2 separate regions of the Homo sapiens genome follow, and region 1 is linked to region 2. The links are contacts of gene promoters, found by promoter capture Hi-C in blood cells and fetal thymus (Javierre and others, 2016). All regions are on one chromosome and are shown on one strand. Each heading gives the region's core, a stretch centred on a gene start or on the middle of the fragment in contact. The rest is flanking DNA. Distances are from core to core; before and after follow the strand shown.

Evidence for each region. The method cuts DNA at HindIII sites, captures the fragments that hold promoters and counts their contacts. A CHiCAGO score of 5 or more calls a contact.
Region 1: a contact is called between the fragment with the promoter of EIF3L here and the fragment with the promoter of JOSD1 in region 2, in 2 of 17 cell types (M2 macrophages and erythroblasts). The highest score is 6.7, in M2 macrophages.

Annotation. Positions count from the first base shown.
Region 1 is chr22:37,848,128-37,850,827 of GRCh38, reverse strand. It overlaps EIF3L (eukaryotic translation initiation factor 3 subunit L), which reads right to left and starts at 1,409. Exons shown (of 13, transcript NM_016091.4): 1 at 1,346-1,409; 2 at 765-813. The coding sequence starts at 1,378. It also overlaps a transcript of ANKRD54 not described here. RefSeq lists enhancers at 723-1,244, 1,245-1,767, 1,768-2,290. The HindIII fragment of the contact is 2,543 bases long and covers 510-2,700 here.
Region 2 is chr22:38,699,648-38,702,347 of GRCh38, reverse strand. JOSD1 (Josephin domain containing 1) reads left to right here and starts at 1,405. Exons shown (of 5, transcript NM_001360236.2): 1 at 1,405-1,548; 2 at 1,730-2,545. The coding sequence starts at 2,361. RefSeq lists a silencer at 939-1,898. The HindIII fragment of the contact is 4,284 bases long and covers 1-2,294 here.

The DNA of each region.
Region 1 (2,700 bases), core at 160-2,659, 850 kb after region 2:
ATTAACATACAGAACTGCTGTAAGGATTAAACAAAATATTTCATACAAAGTACTTAGAACAATGGATAACACTGACTACTAAGTCAAGTCACTATAACGTTTCAGGAAACCTCAGACACCTCCTAAAAAGATTTCATTCGGGCTTGGTTTGAATTACTTAAATTTTTCACATCAAGATTTTCTTCCTTGGGGCAGGCGCGGTGGCTCACGCCTGTAATCCCAGCACTTTGGGAGGTTGGGGCGGGTGGATCACCTGAGGTCAGGAGTTCAAGACCAGCCTGGACAACACGGCGAAACCTCGTCTCTATTAAAAAAATTTAAAAATTAGCTGGGAATGGTGGTGGGCGCCTGTAATCCCAGCTACTCAGGAGGCTGAGACAAGAGAACTACTGCTTGAACGAGGGACGCGGAGGTTGCAGTGAGCCGAGATCGCACCACTGCACTCCAGCCTGGGGGACAGAGGGAAACTCCATCTCAAAAACAAAAACAAAAACAAAAACAAAAAAGCTTTTCTTATTTGGCTAATAGTTTACACAAGAAAACCATAGCCAGGTAAGTAATCCTTCTCTTCCAAGACTGAGGTGGACTATGATAAAAAGCCTGGTTTATTAGGCTTTATAAAACCCCTCGCACTGGCAGCTAATGACTGACTCCAAACCTGGACCATCAAAGAGCAATTTTTGATGCCTGTCAGAGCTGGTTCTAAGACATTCCAAAGGAACTGATCCCTACGAGTACTCAGCCAGCCTAACCCGTGGTCTCACCTGTGTGCATATCATAGTCGCTGGGATAAGCGTAGGGGTCATAAGCCGCCTAGAAGGAAAGAGACACAGTCAAGGACAGCCGCCAAGTCGTGAATTCAAAACGCTCATCCTAGAGTCTAGATGCCAAGCAGAGAGCTAAGGATACAGAGGCGAATAAGACACTGTGCCTGCCTTTGAGGAACTCACACGCCTTAGAGAAAAGGGACAGTAAACAGACAATGACAATACAACATTACGGGTGCAATGAGGTGGAGCAAAGGACAAGAGGCTGTGGGAATCAGCGAGATTTGACCAGACGGAGCCTAGACCAAAAAAACTCAGGTGCAGAAACACAGAAACGTCTAACAGGCCTTAGTCTCCGGTCTTAGAAAGGGGAAGGACAAGCCAATCGAACACGCGAAGTGGGCGGGCAGAGCCAGGGTTGTCTAGGGACCGGGAACTGTGGGAGCAGCCTGAGGGCCGGGCGGGAGGTCGGCCGGAGCTGGCCGCGACCCGGAAGCTGCCTCGCGCCGGGACCCACATCCAGTGGTCCCAGAGATCACCCCGTCGTGGAGCCCACCGCGCCCTTACGGCCACCTTACCTCAGACTCATAATCATCAGCGGGATAAGACATGGCTGCCTCGCTTGCGAGCACCGCCGGAAAGAGCGAAATGAGCGGCCCGCGCCTGCGTCCTGAGGCCGGAAGTTCAGCCCCACTCGGGCCTGCCGGGAAACCGGAAGCCTTTCCGAGGCCTCTGGCCATCTGAGACAGCCATATCCAGAAGGAAGAGGAGCCGCGTTCCGTGGCTCACACCTGTAACCCCACCAGTTTGGGAGGCCGAGGCGGGCGGATCACCTGAGGCTGAGGCCGGGGGTTTGAGACCAGCCTGACCAATATGGAGAAACCCCGTCTCTACTAAAAATACAAAATTAGCCGGGAGTGGTGGCGCATGCCTGTAATTCCAGCTACTCGGGAGGCTGAGGCAGGAGAGTCGCTTGAACCCGGGAGGCGGAGGTTGCGGTGAGCCGAGATCGCGCCATTGCACTCTAGCCTGGGCAACAAGAGGGAAAACTCCGTCTAAAAAGAATAAGAGGGTTACAAGTAGCCTGAATTTTCCTCTCTTCAAATAGGGACTTCTCAAAGAAGGTGAATCTATAATAGTGGTGTAGATTCAGATATAAGGACACGTATTTGGCGTAAAGGAGAGGCAAAGTTAGAGGAACCAGAAAGAATGCTACACAAAAGATGGCCGGCTTCTCGCGTGAAGGAAGATTCGGATACGGGGGCCTGATGGATTTAGTTGTAGGCGGTTTGCCTGCAGCGAGTAAATTATTCAAACGTTCGGACTTCACAAGACTAAACTTACTGGGGATAAAAATTGAGATTTGGCCGGGCGCGATGGCTCACGCCTGTAATCCCTACACTTTGGGAGGCCGAGGCGGGTGGATGATCTGAGATCAGGAGTTCGAGACCAGCCTGGCCGAAATGGCGAAACCCCGTCTCTATTAAAAATACAAAAATTAGCCGGGAGTGGTAGCGTCCGCCTGTAATCCCAGCTACTCAGGAGGCTGAAGCAGGAGAATCGGTGGAACCTGAGAGGCAGAGGCTGTAGTGAGCCGAGATCGCGCCACTGCACTCCAGCCTGGGCGACAGAGCAAGACTCCGTCTAAAAAAAAAAAGAAAAAAAAAAATTGAGATTTGGTCCCATGCAGTAAGAGGGAATGGAGAACAGGAGCCACCCAACTTTGGACATTAAAGTTGGAGCAGGCAAAGATGAGGCCAGCTGTGTCGCGAAGCCTGGGACATGGGCAGCTCTTGAGTACACCGGGTTCGAGGCCAGGGGAAACCCTCAAGGTAGAGATGGGGTTATAAAGCAAACCAATAAAAACCGGTGTATGAGTCAAGGAGAGGCCTTAGTTTAGCCATCTGCCCATACACAACACCTAGTGGAAATC
Region 2 (2,700 bases), core at 156-2,655:
CCGTGCGTAGTGGCAGGAGCCTGTAATCCCAGCTACGCGGGAGGCTGAGACATGAGAATCGCTTGAGTCCAGGAGGTGAAGGTTGCAGTAAGCCGAGATCGCCCCGTTGCAATTCAGCCTGGGCGACAAAAGTTAAACTCCATCTTAAAAAAAAAAAAAAAAAAAAAGGCCGGGCACGGTGGCTCACTTCTGTAATCCCAACACCTTGGGAGGCCAAGGCGGGTGGATCACCTGAGGTCGGGAGTTCGAGACCAGCCTGACCAACATGAAGAAACCCCTCTACTAAACACACAAAATTAGCCGGGCGTGGTGGCGCATGCCTGCAATCCCAGCTACTCGGGAGGCTGAGGCAGGAGAATTGCTTGAACCCGGGAGGCGGACGTTGCGGTGAGCGGAGATCATGCCATTGCACTCCAGTCTGGGCAACAAGAGCGAAACTCCGTCTCCAAAAAACAAAACAAAACAACTAAATTTGAAGTGCAACAGTTTCTTCTCGTTTTTCCAGTTTTACAGAAAACCCAAAAGAAGGGCAGCTAAGGTGGATAATGATGCCTACCACGCACCCTAAGAGTAGGTAAAGGGGAAAAAATGAAATCCACGTGGGACTGCGAGTAGTTTTCGCCTTTTCCCGAAGACGCACACAATGCGCTTAGGTATACCTCGCGCAGAGGTCTCTGCAGAGAGGAAAGCCACCGTGAGAAGAGCGGGGAGCCCCCAGGCAAGAAGGCAGTGGCTTGTGTGTAGTGAACCGAAATGCGACACCAAGGAACTGCAACAGGATTCTCCTTTCCACTTGAAATGTGACTCCCAGCGAGACACCTACCCTTGACGCTCCCTGGACAGTGCGGCACGGTCGGGCCCACTAACCAAGGCAATTTGCGCCCGACCGAATCAGGTGCTTCAAAATCCCCCCTGGTGAGCCGCGCGTTAACCACACATAAAACAGTCAACGCAGAAGGAGCGAGAACGTTCGGCCGAAAAGCCCGGCACAGAGAAGGGAGGGGTGCTGAAAGCCGCGGACTGCAGCCGCTGGCCTGGCTGCCGCCCCGAAACAACGCCCACGCCCGGGAGAAGGGCAGGCTGGCGTCCAGGTAGGACTCCCTCAGGCCGCCCCGCCAGGGGCCGCGCCGAGCGGAGCGGCTGGACCCCAACCCTGCCGGCCGCCGCCGAGGTGCGCAGCCCGCAGCCCCACACCCACGGCCTTTGCAACACCCCAACCGTTGAACTGCGCCCCTACACGCCCGGCGTCTGCGGCTCCCAGGCCGGTGCCGATGACGTCAGACTTACGTCAGGCGTGACGCCACGGCTGGGAGGAGTGAGGACGGCGCGGGAGGGCGTTTCCGGAGCACGCGCCGGGCGGGGGCCGCTGACGTCGGGCTCAGGTGCGCGCGCCCGCCCGCACGGCCCAGTTGGCGGCGCGCACTCCAGGTGGCGGCCGGCTGCGGTGAGGGGACCGCCAGCGGCGAGCAGTCCCGGCGGCCCTGGGGTCTGCGGCCGGGGGCGCGGCGGGAGGGCGTCTGGGCCTGCGCTCACGTGACGGGCGGGGAGGTTTGTGTAGGGGCTGCGAGCCGGGTGGGCGCGGGCCCGGGAGCGCGAGGCTGACTGTCCGGCCCCACCCCTCGCGGGCCAGCCCTTCGCCGCGCGGAACCTTCCCTCGGGCAGGGGCCGGCCCCGCCGCTCACTTCCCGCGCCCGCTCGCCGCTGACCGGAGTTGTCTCCTCCTCCGCAGGGCCGCGGCCAGAGGGCTAGAATCCGCGCCTTCCGAGGGAGCCGCGCCCTGCGGGCCCCACCGTACCCGAGGGGATGGAGGGCTGCCCCCGAGGCCCCCGCGCGGCTCGCGGTCCCACGCCTGCCGGCCCGCGCTAGCTACTCGACTCGTGCGCTAAATTTATCCGTCACCCAGGCCTTGTCTCCCGAGTCATTGGCGTCGTGGTTCAAAAGAAATGGAAGAAAAGGAGCGATGTGACCGATTGTGTTCGGTCCTCCTGCTTTGAGGCCTGGCATTTGCAGAGGGAAACAGCAAGAAAATCGTGGGGATTTTGGAGGGGGGTGGGAGGGAAGGGTGGGGAAACGGAAACAAGGTCTTACATTTTATGTGTTTTTTTAAATTCTGCACTTTGACAGTGGTAGCAAAATAAAAGTAATCCAAAAGTTATTTTTCTATTGAGAAGAGAGAAGAGGTGGGTTTTATTTTTTTCCTTTTGATTCCAATCTTTTCTCCCAGTGACAAAGCATAAATCATGGACACCAGAGAATAAGGTGGACCTCAGGAATCCGGAAAAGACTGAGAAGCTTACATTCTTCCTCTAGAGGGAAGAGTGGGGTGTTTATAGCCATCTCTGGAACCTAAAACAAAAAACATGAGTTGTGTGCCATGGAAAGGAGACAAGGCCAAATCTGAATCATTGGAGCTGCCCCAGGCAGCACCCCCACAAATCTACCATGAGAAACAGCGCAGGGAGCTTTGTGCCCTCCACGCCCTCAATAACGTCTTCCAGGACAGCAATGCCTTCACCCGGGATACGCTGCAAGAGATTTTCCAGAGGTAGGGGACCCTTCTCCTTGGCATCTTGATACTGATATTTCTGGATTTCTGTGGGTGGGGCAGTGTCTCAGCTTCATAAACCTTCAAAGCTGTAGGTATTAGCTAGATTGCGTTAGCAGGTATAAGGGACACAAGACATGAAAAGATAATCACTA